2 separate regions of the Homo sapiens genome follow, and region 1 is linked to region 2. Evidence: promoter capture Hi-C in human tissues and cell types (Jung and others, 2019). All regions are on one chromosome and are shown on one strand. Each heading gives the region's core, a stretch centred on a gene start or on the middle of the fragment in contact. The rest is flanking DNA. Distances are from core to core; before and after follow the strand shown.

What was found. The method cuts DNA at HindIII sites, captures the fragments that hold promoters and counts their contacts. A contact is called where the count stands out against the background at its distance.
Region 1: a fragment that was not itself captured here is called in contact with the fragment with the promoter of CISH in region 2 in 1 of the 25 tissues and cell types used here (dorsolateral prefrontal cortex).

The regions. Positions count from the first base shown.
Region 1 is chr3:51,086,349-51,093,172 of GRCh38, reverse strand. DOCK3 (dedicator of cytokinesis 3) reads right to left here. Exons shown (of 53, transcript NM_004947.5): 8 at 3,889-3,930; 9 at 2,789-2,943. Among named protein-coding and RNA genes, the nearest start is that of MANF, 300 kb to the left of the region's middle. The HindIII fragment of the contact is 4,069 bases long and covers 2,388-6,456 here.
Region 2 is chr3:50,610,336-50,616,744 of GRCh38, reverse strand. It overlaps CISH (cytokine inducible SH2 containing protein), which reads left to right and starts at 4,971. Exons shown (of 3, transcript NM_145071.4): 1 at 4,971-5,114. The coding sequence starts at 5,095. It also overlaps a transcript of MAPKAPK3 not described here. RefSeq lists enhancers at 742-831, 4,453-4,542, 5,452-6,012 and a silencer at 4,623-5,102. The HindIII fragment of the contact is 7,054 bases long and covers 833-6,409 here.

The DNA.
Region 1 (6,824 bases), core at 3,173-5,672, 480 kb before region 2:
CAAAAAAGAGCCTGCATAGCCAAGACAATCCTAAGCAAAAAGAACCAAGCCAGAGGCATCATGCTCTCTGACTTCAAACTATACTACAAGGCTACGGTAACCAAAACATCGTGTTACTGGTACCAAAACGGATATATAGGCCAATGGAACAGAAGAGAGGCCTCAGAAATAACACCACACATCTACAACCATTTGATCTTTGACAAACTTAACACAAACAAGCAATGGGGAAATGATTCCCTATTTAATAAATGGTGTCGGGAAAACTGGCTAGCCATATGCAGAAAACTGCAACGGAACCCGTTCCTTACACCTTATACAAAAATTAACTCAAGATGGATTAAATTGCTGCCTGTTCTTTCGTCTGGAAGCTTCGTCCCAGAGGGGCAACTGCCAGATGCCAGCCAGAGCTCTCTTGTATAAGGTGTCTGTAGGCCCTTACTGGGAGGTGTCTCCCAGTCAGGATATATGGGGGTCAGGGACCCACTTGAGGAGGCAGTCTGACCCTTAGCAGAGCTCAAACGCTGTGCTAGGAGGTCCGCTGCTCTCTTCAGAGCCATCAGGCAGGGAAACTAAAGTCTGCTGAAGCTGCGCCCACAGCTGCTCCTTCCCCCAGGTGCTCTGTCCCAGGGAGATGGGGGTTTTATCTATAAGTCCCTGACTGGGGCTGCTGCCTTTTTTTCAGAGATGCCCTGCCCAGAGAGGAGAAATCTGGCAGTCTGGCCACAGCAGCCTTACTGAGCTGCAGTGGGCTCCGCCCAGTTCAAACTTCCCAGCGGCTTTGTTTACACCGTGAGCATAAAACCACCTACTCAAGCCTCAGTAATGGCAGATGTCCCTCCCCCAACCAAGCTCGAGCATCCCAGGTCGATCTCAGTCTGCTGCTGTGCTGGCAGTGAGAATTTCAAGCCAGTGAATCTTTTAGTTTGCTGGGCTCCATGGGGGTGGGACCTGCCAAACCAGACCACTTGGCTTCCTGGCTTCAGCACCCCTTTCCAGAGGAGTGAACAGTTCTGTATCACTGGCGTTCCAGGTGCCAATGGGTTATGGAGAAAAACAAACTCCTGCAGCTAGTTTGGTGCCTGCTCAAACAGCTACCCAGTTTTGTGCTTGAAACCCAGGTCTCTGATGTGTTAGGCACCAGAGGGAATCTCCTGGTCTGCGGGTTGCAAAGACCATGGGACAAGCGCACTATCTGGGCCAGAGTGCACAGTTCGTCAGGCTCAGTACCTCATGGCTCCCCTTGGGTAGGGGAGAAAATTCCCCAACCCCTTGCACTTCCCAGGTGAGGCAATGCGCCACCCTGCTTCGGCTTGCCCTCCATGGGCTGCACCCACTGTCCAACCAGTCCCAGTGAGATGAACCGGGTACCTCGGCTGAAATGCAGAAATCACCCGCCTTCTGCATCAATCTTGCTGGGAGCTGCAGACCAGAGCTGTTCCTATTCAGCCATCTTGCCAACAATCCATCTTTTTTTTTTTTTTTTTTTTGAGACCAAGTCTCACACTGTCAGCTGGGCTATAGTGCAGTGGCACCATCCCGGCTCAGTGCAACCTCCGCCTCCCAGGTTGAAGCGATTTTCCTGCCTCAGCCTCCTGAATAGCTGGGCTTACAGGAGCCCGCCACCACGCCCAGCTAATTTTTTGTATTTTTGGTAGAGATGGGGTTTCACTATGTTGGTCAGGCTGGTCTCAAACTCCTGACTTCGTGATTCGCCCTCCTCGGCCTCCCAAAGTGGTGGCATTACAGTCGTGAGCCATTGCTCCTGGGCCACAATAATGGAATAGTTTTATCTGTTTCATATATTGGACTTTTTCATAAAATGTAGCTTGAAGAAAGGATTTTTACACACACATACACACTCTCACACACACAAATAAAGTTTACAAACATCTGGATAGTAGGAAAAGAAGAGCAGCCAGAATCTATATCCACACAGCCCTGGCCTGTAGTCTTGCCTACATGCAACAGTTTTAGCTTTCATCAATACCACTACTACCTTCTCTACAATAACTTTCCCAAGGGCACATACTAGGAGCCATTGGTGATAAGGAAAATTCACATGTCCTGATCAATGGGTGCATCATTTTATTCCTATGCCAAAGTAAAGCATAGTGTATTAATATTTTTGTCAAGATCAGAGGCACTGTGGGGCATATAAATTAACTGTTTTTCTTTTGCATTCTGTTATAACTTCCATTTCTAATTTTCCCACATATAATATATAATTGGAAAAGTGAAAAATCTGCTTTCGAATTTTAAGTACTAAAGCAAGTAAAAGCCATAAAGCACTCCTAACACAAGAAGTTCCCAAGCAATATAAAAGAAACTCAGAAGATGCTCTCCTTTCATGGGCTGCCCAGACAAGACACCATCAGCCCCCTTTTTCTTCAAACCCTCTCTTCCACATGCAGCAAGCCAAGGCCCAGGGCTTCCTGCACTCTGGAGCTGTGTGTCTCTGCTGCATTTGTTTGGTTCTATGTTTCTCCTATGCCTTTTTTGTGGTATTAAATAGATGCATCCTTTTCTCTCTGTGAGGTGGTGATAGCCAAGACTCGATTTTGAGCTTCTATGTGGAAAAAGTCATAAAAAAGGCAGCCACCCATGGTATGGTTTACGTGACTTAAGGGCACACAGGGAATTGGGGCCAAAACTCCTAGCTAATGAGATGAGGTTACTTTATCTTGTTTTGCCTCTTCTGTGCATCTGTCTTCTCTGATGGCCAGAGATGCCTATGACCCATACCATCCTAACATAGAACCTCACCAGAATTTCCAGTGACTCTCACCTGATCTGCTTGCCTTCCCTCATGTCATATAAGGAAAAGAAGACATCGGTATCTTCCCCAATAGTATTGTAAGTGAAACTCTTCAGGCTGAGGAAGAAGTGATGTGGCACTGGCATCCGACATGTTTCCCCATGACGTGGGCGCATTGTATCTACCTAATGAGGAAGAAAAAAACCCAGTGATTTTTATTTTAGTTATTTTTTATATTGATCATTAAAAAGTGGAAACTAAATTACAAACTCTTTTCACACTACTGAAGGAGATTATTTGAGAAACTGAAGATGTTTTCTCTGCTTGTAGGGGATGCTGCATCAACAGACTTGGGTTGAGGTGGGCAAGCAAGCAGCTGGGAGGAGTAAACAGTGAAGAAATATAGGGACAGTAATTCCAACTTACAAGTGAACTAAAAATCTCCACCAGGTGACAAATATCTTAGTTCTCCAGGAAACCATTTTCTTTTTCCTTTTTTTTTTTTTTTTTTTTTTTGAGACAGAGTCTCACTCTGTCACCCAGACTGGAGTGCAGTAGCATGATCTCGGCTCACTGCACTCTACTCCCGGGTTCAAGCAATTCTCCTCCCTCAGCCTCCTGAGTAGCTGGGATTACAGGCACCCACCATCATGCCCAGCTAATTTTTTTATTTTTAGTAGGTTTCACCATGTTGACCAGGCTGGTCTCAAACTCCTGACTTCAGGTGATCCACCTGCCTTGGCCTCCCAATGTGCTGGGATTACAGGCATGAGCCACCACGCCCAGCCCGGAAAACCATTTTCAAACTCATTTTAAAGAAATGCCATTATGACCCCAATGCGCTTGATTTACACTGTTACCTCGTAATAGTTACCATTCTAAATAACATTTTTATTTTCTCCCAGACTGATTCATTTTAGTTTCAGTCTGCTTTAATTGTGCTTATGCAAATCTGCACAGTAGAAGTAGAGTCTGGCCAAAACTGTTTAGAGGTCAAAGCTCCTCAGATAAAGACACCACACAGTCAAGAAGTCAGTGGTGTCTGTCATTTCCTGGTGTATTCATATGTTGTAATCTCTTAACAGAAAAAGTTGAGGGGAAAGGCTGGAAGACCCAGGAAAGCCGCTTACCTGGGATGTGCTTTGCTGTACACTCTGCCGGCTAGATAAATGCTATGGAAAGAAGGAAAGAAAAATAAACTCTACCGGGAAAGAAACTAAATTTTATTAAGAACTTTCTATATGCTGGGCAGTCTGCTATGCCTTTTATATTCATGATCTCATTTAATTCTGATAACTTTGTAAAATAAGTGTTATTCGTATTTGGTGGAGACAACTAAGGCTTAGAGTATGGACGTAATTTGCTGAAGGTCACATAGCAAGAAAGTGGCAAAATCCAGATTCAAACCTGAGCCCTTCCAGATCTGACTAACAGACAAGTCACAAGTCGGTGCCTGGTACTAAATTTTTGCTTTGCCACTGTCCTCTCCATATACTGTACCACTTTCTGAGCTGCCTGATCCAGCTTCTTCAGACTTTCCACAATGATGCCTTTAACAATAAAGGGCTCCCTCCCAAACACTTCCCCATGCTGTTCCTTTACTGCTGGCTGGCTGAAATGAGAAGAAGCAGATTCTAATTCAAGCTTTGCCACTCAAAGACTGTGAAATTTCAGACAAATCACTTAATCTCTCCAGGAGACATTTTCCTGAACATAAAATTCAGATAAGAGCCTGTATTATCTTCCTTACAAAGTTATTGTGAAGCTCAAATTACATGAGCATCACTATGATATAGAAGTTAGGGACCTAAGTGCAGAAGTGAGAATCCTAGGTTTTCAATTTTTTAAAAATGTTTAAATTGATACATAATATTTTAAAATATTTATGAAGTACATGTGATATTTTGATACATGCATACAATGTATAATTATCAAATCAGGGTATTTAGAATATTCATTGCCTCAAACATTTATCATTTCTTTCTGTTGGGAACATTTCAAATCTTCTCTTCTAGCTACTTTGAAATGTAGAATAAATTACTGTTAACTACACTCACCCCACTGTGCTATCAAACACGAGAACTTATTCCTTCTAACTAGATGTTTGTATTTGCTGAGCAACCTCTCTTCAACCCCACCACCCCACGATTCTCAACCTTTGGTAACCACTTTTTTATTCCCTATCTCCAAGAGATGCACATTTTTTTGTTTTTGTTTTTGTTTTTTAGCCCCTACATATGATAGAACATGAGATATTTGTCTTTCTGTGCCCGGCTTATTTCATTTAACATATTGACCTCTAGTTCCATCCATGCTGCTACAAATGACAGTATTTCATTCTTTTTATGGCAGAATAGTATTCCATTGTGCATATATGCCACATTTTCTTCATCCTTTCATCTGTTAACAAACACTTAGATTAATTCTATATCTTGGCTATTGTGAACAGTGCTGCAATAAACACAAGGGTGCTGGTGTCTCATTTATATACTGATTTTTCTTTCTTTTTGATAAATATCCAGTAGTAGGACTGCTGGATCAAATGGTGGTTCTGTTTTGTTTTTTGGGAAGTCTCATACTGTTTTCCATAGTGGCTGTACTAATTTACATTCCCACCAACAGTGTATAAGAGTTCTAAGTATATCAGTATATCAGTTCTAAGAGATTTTTAGTAGTCTTTAGGTTTTTCTATATATAAGATTATATCATCTACAAAGAGGAACAATTTGACTTCTACCTTTCCAATTTAAATGCCTTTTATTTCTTTCTCTTGCTTGATTGCTCTGGCTAGGACTTCAAGTACTATGTTGAATAGGAGAATTAAAAGTGGGTATCTTTGTCTTGTTCCAGTCTTAGAGGAAAGTATTTCAGCTTTTCCTCATTCAGTATGATGTCAGCTGTGGATGTGTCATATACAGCTTTTATGCTGAGGTATTTTCCTTCCATGTCTAACTTGTTGAGAGTTTTTAACAGGAAAAGATGTTAAATTTTATCAAATGCTTTTTCTGTGACTATTGAGATGATCATATTGTTTTTGTCCTTCATTCTGTCAATGTGATGTATCACACTGATTGATTTGCACATGTTGAACCACGCTTGCATCACTGGGATAAATTCCATTTGATTATGGTTTATAATCTTTTTGACATGTTGTTGGATTCAATTTGCTAGTATTTTGCTGAGGATTTTTGTGTCTGTATTTATTGTGTTCATCAAGGATACTGGCCCATCTTTTTTTTCTTGTGTCCTTGTCTGACTTACTATCAGTGTAATGTGTAACGCTGGTCTCATAGAATGAGTTAGGATGAATTCTCTCTGCCTCAATTTTTTGGAACAGTTTGAAAAGAGCTTGTGTTAGTTCTTCCTTATAAGTTTGGTAGAATTCAGCAGTAGAGCCATACAGTTCTGGGGTTTTCTTTGCTGAATGACTTTTTATTACTGATTTGATCTCTTTTCTTGTTACTGGTCTATTCAAGCATTTCATTTCTTCATGATTCAATCTTGGTAGATTGTGTGTGTCCAGGAATTAATCCATTTCCTCTAGGTTTTCCAATATGTTTGCATATAATTGTTCATAGTAGTCTCTAATGATTCCTTGTTTTGTTTTGTTTTGTTTTTGGGATGAGTCTCACTCTGTCGCCCAGGCTGGAGTGCAGTGGCAGAATCTTGGCTCACTGCAACCTCCACCTCCTGGGTTCAGGTGATTCTCCTGCCTCAGCCTCCTGAGTAGCTGGGATTACAGATATGTGCCACCATGATCAGCTAATTTTTGTATTTTTAGTAGACATGGGGTTTTGCCATGTTGGCCAGTCTGGTCTTGAACTCCTGACCTCAGGTGATCCACCTGCCTTGGCCTCCCAAAGTGCTGGGACTCCAGGAGTGAGCCACCATGCTGGCTGATCCTGTGTACTTCTGTGGCATCAGCCACAATGTATCCTTTTTTGTTTCTGACTTTATTTTGGACTGCTGGGAACACCCTAAAATCTGGCCATAAACTGGCCCCAAAACTGGCCATAAACAAAATCTGTGCAGCACTGCGACATGTTCATGATGGCCATGATGCCCA
Region 2 (6,409 bases), core at 3,722-6,221:
TGGCCAACCCTCAGCGTACTCAACTTTTTAAACATGCCGAGGGAGGTGGCATCTTGTCGTTGTTGAATTCGCCACTCTTTAGTCTCTGGTGGCTCTGGGAGTCTCCAGCACTGGCGACTGCCCCCTTTTTGCAGCTCCCGCTTATGCCCTTGACTCGCTGCTTCCCTTTGGTATATACAGCATCCTGGGGACCAGAAATCCCGAGTTGCCATTTGATCAGATCCGCCAACATTTCACCTTATGGTTTGGGCTTTTGGCGTCGTGTTTAAAAAGTCTCTGTCTCCCATCCGAGTGACAGATATTCTCCATTAGCTTTCTAGTTTTGCCTTGCACATATAAGTCTCTGTTAAGCCCATCTTAGACTACCTTACGTATTTTGAGCCAGTTTTCCCAACACCGGCTGTTAAGCAACTCTCATTTCACAGATGAGGAAACTGGGACCCCTGGGGAGAAAACAACTTGTCTAGAGCCATAGGGAGGGTGGCTGTGGCTGTCTTCTGGGACAGATCTGAACTACTTGCGCACATCACATCACTCCCCCAATCCGGAAGCTGAGGGACCTGAGCGAGCTGGCTCACTTGGAACTGGGAAGGTGCGGCTCAGCGCAGGGGCTCTGCATGGGCCTCTGCTGTCATCTACAGGCCATCTACAGGACTGCAGGTACCAGGACCTCGGTTCCACTCAGAGGCGTCTTCCAGCCATCCTACTCTTGGCTCCGGAATTTAGGCCCAGTGAGCGCCTCCCCCTCAGCCCCTCTGGTTAACACACGCACACTCACGGACCCCTGGGCTGCATGTGCAGGCTCATCAGAGAAGTAGCTCTTGGAAAGATGATCTTCTGTCAATGAATGAGTGAATGAGTGACTGAAAGGGTGCTACAACTTATTAGTGGGTACCCACTGTGTGCAGATGTTGAGTGGAGATGGGGTTGGGGCTCTGCCCCTATTTCTTTCAGGCAACCTTCAAGCTAGCAGTGTTCAGTGAAGCAGGAGGCTCCAGACAATAGCCTCAGCTGGCCATAGTGAACACTTCTTGCAGACCAGATGCTGGGAATGTGCTCTCCCTGCAACCCCCTGACCTTACAGAGCCTAGAGGAGGTCACACTATCCCTTCTGCCCCACACTACAGACACACAGGACAGAAAAGCCCAGAGAGGTTAAGTGACCTGTCTGAGGTCAGCAGCTGTCATGACAGAGCCCCCATTCCAACTCCAAAGCACAACCTCAGGGCTGGGCTCTTATCCTCAAACCATGGCCTCCTCTCCTAGTCCTTTCTGGCTCCTCACACAGCCACATGTGCAAACATACTCTCACACATGTACACATGCAGTCACACCTTTACACATGTGCACACACATGCATATAACACGTATAAACACACATGCATATAACACACATGCACACAGATACACATGCACATGTGCACACACACATGCATTTATGCCCAGCTGGACCCAGGATTGATGTCCCTGAGCCCAACCTGAGAATCTGATTCAAGATCTCAGAGCCTCTTTGAAAGCCCTATGATCTGGAATCTTCTACTGCTGGGGGGAGCCAAAGAAGGCTCTCTGCTCTCTGAAGGCAACTAGTTTGAGCCTGGTGAACCTGAGGCTGAGCAAGATGTCATTCTGGTGAGCAGAAGGCTAGGCAGCTGAGGGTGGAGGCTGGCTCCTTGCCCCAGCCAAAGGCATCCCACTGAATGTTCTGTGAAGATGTCTTCTTTCTTTAAAATGGAATTAGATTATAATTGCTCTACAAATTTTATAATTGTATTTTTTAAGCTGGTCTCTTTTATTAAAATTTTAAGTTGCATAAGTAAAACTTCCTCATTGTAATTAATTCAAATTATACAGAAGTATGAAAAGTAAGGCAAAGGTGCTGCTTCTCCCCTCCCAGTCCCTATAACCAGTGTCCATGCTTCCACAGGCACACGCATTCCCCACATGGGTCCATCGGAGAGATGCCTTGAAACTACTCACTTAGCCCAGGAAAGTCAGAATATGTGGTTTCCCTTAGTGCTCATGTTCCAGCAACCACCTGCAGCATCCCCTCCACAATGATGGGAGGATTTGGCATGCAGGATGGCTAGGTCTGGTCAGGAGTGGGTTCATGATGGCAGACTCTGCCACACAGCCCTTCATGTAGCTGTGTGTCCAAGGGGACAGAGACTTTGGAATAGCTTAAAGTGAGGGGGGCTAAATCCTACACACACACACACACACACACACACACACACACACACACACTCTGTCCTTACTGGAGAGGGGAGGCTGTACATGGTGAGAGGATGGAGGCCAAATGAGCGAGACTTTTGGGAAGGCACTGCTGTGTATTCTTGTGATTCATCTTGTGATTGTTCTGGGTAGGGAGTGGCAGGGGAATCTTGCAGTAAGTTCAATCCCTGGGGTGCAGGAGAGGGATTATCCTAGAAGAGAAGAATCTATGGAAATTTGGCTAGTGAGGGCATGAGAGGGGGCACCGCTAGGTGGCAGTGTGGGCCCAGCAATCAGAGCCAGGGTTTCTAGGGAGCAGCCAGGGCAGGAGAATTAAGTACTAAGTTGGCCAGAGGGACCCAACTTAGTACTTGGGGCAGAACAGGGGCACATCACTGTTCCCAGCATGCAGGTGAGGTGCACAGTGCTGTCATATTCACACACACACAAAAATAGTTGGAAGGCCAAAACCCTTGGAACCCTTTGGTTTACACATAGACTGCATAATCACTGACCTGTAGGAGATACTTTCAAAGGGACACCCATGGTGCTCTGACATGGACAGGCCTGGGGGCAGAGAAGCTTCACTGAGGACCTTAAAGCTGGATGTCTAGGAGTCGGCAGATCACCAGCACCCATAGAGGAAGTAGGAGGAAGTGTGTAGGCTCCTGGCTTAAACCATTACTTGCCAGCTGGGAGATCTAAGTTATATTGTAACCTCTCCATGCCTCAGTTTTCTCACCTGTAAAGAGGAGATAATATGTGGTAGTTGTGACAATGACATGAGGCTGCAAATTGCTGAGAGTGCTTGACACATAGTAAGTGTTCAGTTGAATAGTCATGGTGAGGGGGAAGAAGTATAGTTTTGGTAGAGAGCTTGGGATTTGGCCCCATAAGAGACCCAAGTTCAAAATTGTAACTCTGTTGCCTGGCAGCGGCAAAGTCCTTTTGTCTTCATAGTAATGAGACAGTGGACAGTTCCTACTGGCAAGTCAGTGGTCCACACAGGGGCCGCATATCAGGCTATCCAGGTATCCCAGCCCTCAAAGTGGGTTATAAGGTATCCATCCCCCCTACCCCCATTCCAAGAAAGTGGCTTCTGGCCAACTCAGGAGGGGGCTGGCAGAGTTGCACTCATGAAGCCCGGCTTCCCTTCAGGAAAGCTACAGAGAAGTGACTGCCCTGAAATCTGAAACTTAACGTTTTTTCCCCAGTTTCACAGGGTTTTGCTTTCAGGTTTCTTTTGCCCTCTGCCATTCTGGGCAGAGCAAACTGAGCCCTGTCTTCCCTGGATGCTATCGTTCAGGCCCTTCAACAAGGCCAGGGGTCTGTCATCCCTGCCCAGGATCTCAGAGCTAGACTCCTTTCTGGGGACCCTGGGGGCACACACTGGGAGGGGGATGGGGGTGGGGAGTGGACCCTGCAACCTCTCCAAATCCCACAGTTCTTCTGGCCCAAGGGTTTGGAGGAGATTCACAGACCCTACAGTCCTTCAAGATGCTCCATAGTGAATCCAGTGAACTGAAAAAAGGTGGAGAGGGTCCTGGTAGGAGCGTGGGCTTCTGATTCAGAGCTGGGACCAAGCTCTTACCCTGCCATTTCCTAGCATTTGTTCCCTGGGGCTGTCTTCTGTCCGCATAACGGGAGCAACACCAGTTGTAGAGGATCAAATGCAGCAAGTACTCCCTGTAGATAAGAGCGAGTGTTACTACTCTGCCCCCGCCATCCCGCCCCAACCTCTATCACCCTACTCCCAGATTATCTCCCTATGTTTTGAGTTGCAGGACTCTCTCTCAGCATTTTTTTTCTGGCGGGGGGTGGGGGTGGTACCAACCCAGAGTCCGGGCCATCTGGGGCTGTCTCTGCTTGCTTTCTCAAATCTGTAGTCTCTTCTCCCCTGACTGGCAGGGCCGGCCAGAAACCAGTGCCAGCCAAGACTGGATGGTCTGCCTGATTCGAAAAGTTGGGGCGTGCTTTCTCCTTCAACTCTTTCAAAGAAAACGTTCTTGTCTGGATCTTTCTGGCTGTGGTGACCGCCGGCTTGACCTCAGTGGACCCACTCATTTCTGGAACTGTCCTCTGCACCCCGCCCTGCCCTAAGTCCCGCTCCAGATCTCACCCCATGCCACCCAATCCGACACCCGACACACAGAGTCCTAGGGTCCAGGAGCGGCCGTCCCAACACGGGGCGCTTGCACACGCCGACAGACCTCCTTGGAGGAGCCGCTCGCAGGGAGGACAAGCCCGGGACTCCGCCCCCCGCCCTGCCACGAGTTCCACCGCGAGATAAGAGGGCCCTTCCCCAACGACGCAGAATGCCAGAAGGCAATCTGGGCGCGGGTTGCTGAGCCCGGGCCCCTCCTTAACTTCCCCGACCCGGTCTTTCCCCACTGATCTCTCCGACCTGCCCCTCTGGGTAGCTTCAGCCCCGGGTCCACGCGCTGCTATTGGCCCTCCCCGACCGCTCGGCTCCACCTTCAGCGTCGCGATTGGTCAGCTCGCGGGGCCCCGCCCCGTTTTCCTGGAAAGTTCTTGGAAATCTGTCAAAGTATTTCCTTTCACTGCTCAGGGCCCCAGACCCGGCGACGGGGCCCGCGCACCCCGCCCGGGCCCCACCGCTCAGCCCGCGGTTCTAGGAAGACGCTGCTTCCGGGAAGGGCTGGAACGCGGCAGACAAAGGATTAGGCAGCAGCTCGCCCCGCCCCGCTCGTCTGGCCCGCCCCCCTCGCCCTCGCAGGCGGTCCGCGCCACTGCCTCTCAGTCCCTGTCCTGCGCCCGCGCGCCCCGGGAGCCTACCCAGCACGCGCTCCGCGCCCACTGGTTCCCTCCAGCCGCCGCCGTCCAGCCGAGTCCCCACTCCGGAGTCGCCGCTGCCGCGGGGACATGGTCCTCTGCGTTCAGGGGTAAGCGCGGCTCTCTGCCCCCTTCCCGGCCACCACGAGGGGCGCACGGGAGAACAGGGGCTTCGTGCTAGCTGCCGGGCATTGGGAGGGCTTGACGGGCCAGAGGTGACTGAGCGCAGACGGACCTCAGGAGCAAGGCTCTGTGTGGGGCTGTGACACTCCCACTCCCCGCCCCCACACACTTACCTCAATTCCCACTGTGGATTGGGAAACCGGGGGCTGGCCGGCTAAAGGAGGAACTCACAGGGTGGGCTCAGCCTGGGTTCTCATTGGAGCAGATGGATGCTAACGGCACGGCGTCCCCCAAGATGTGGCCAACAATCCCAGATATTCTTCTGGGCCCAGAGCACTCTACGCTAGCCTGCCTGCTGCCCTGCCTGCTAGTAACCTTGGACCAGCCCCTGGCCCCCTCTGTCCTGGTGTCCCCTCTCCTGCCCCAGGCTAGCAAGTAGGCTCTTCTTGGGAAGCCAGCCGCAGATCCTTGCCTTTCCTCAGGCTGGCACCTGATGGTCTGCAACTCTCGGGAGGCCCTGGGTTTGGCCTGGTCCTGCTTGGGGTACCCCCACAATCGTCTCACAACCCTGTCTCAGCCCAGTCTGGGATCCCAATGTGAGAAGGACCTTGGCTCCTGCCTCTCATCTTCAAATTTCCCAGACTTGAGGTAAGGGACAGTGGAGAGGGGATGCTGATAAGACAGAGTCTTGACCTGAGCTGAGCATTCCTGGCCATCCACTCTGTCCTGAACCTCAGCAACCCCTTCAACCAAAGGGTCTGATGCTGGCCATGGTGATGTGACAGGAGCTCAGGAAGCTCCAAGGAGAGAGGAAGAAGGTATAAATGGGTGTTCTGCACTCAGGGAGGACTGGGTGGCTGTGCTTATCGCAACTGGCCTGGTGCCAAGTGAGGGAGGGTGGAAGGTGAGGCCAAGGAAGAGGACATGGAGGTGCTGGGAAGACTACTTCTCCCTTGCTGTCTCCAGCAAGTTCCTTCCTCCTGTCTGCATTCTGGGACTCCTGAATACCTGCCCCACCACTGCCTTCCACCCCAGGAGCCTCCCCCTGCATTCCGGGGTCCCATAGCCTCTTTCACTTTTTACCCTAGGTGAGCACCCCCTTGTAAGCTCAGGGCTACTGTTGGGTGTCAGGGAACAAAGTTTTAGACTGCTGCGCTCCAAAGCGGGCACACACATGTACCTAGAACACACCAGCCACTGTCCCCACCATGATGATGACACAGCCATGGACACACCCCTGCCCAGGTACACACTCACCAGGAGCTTGTGGTGATCAACACAG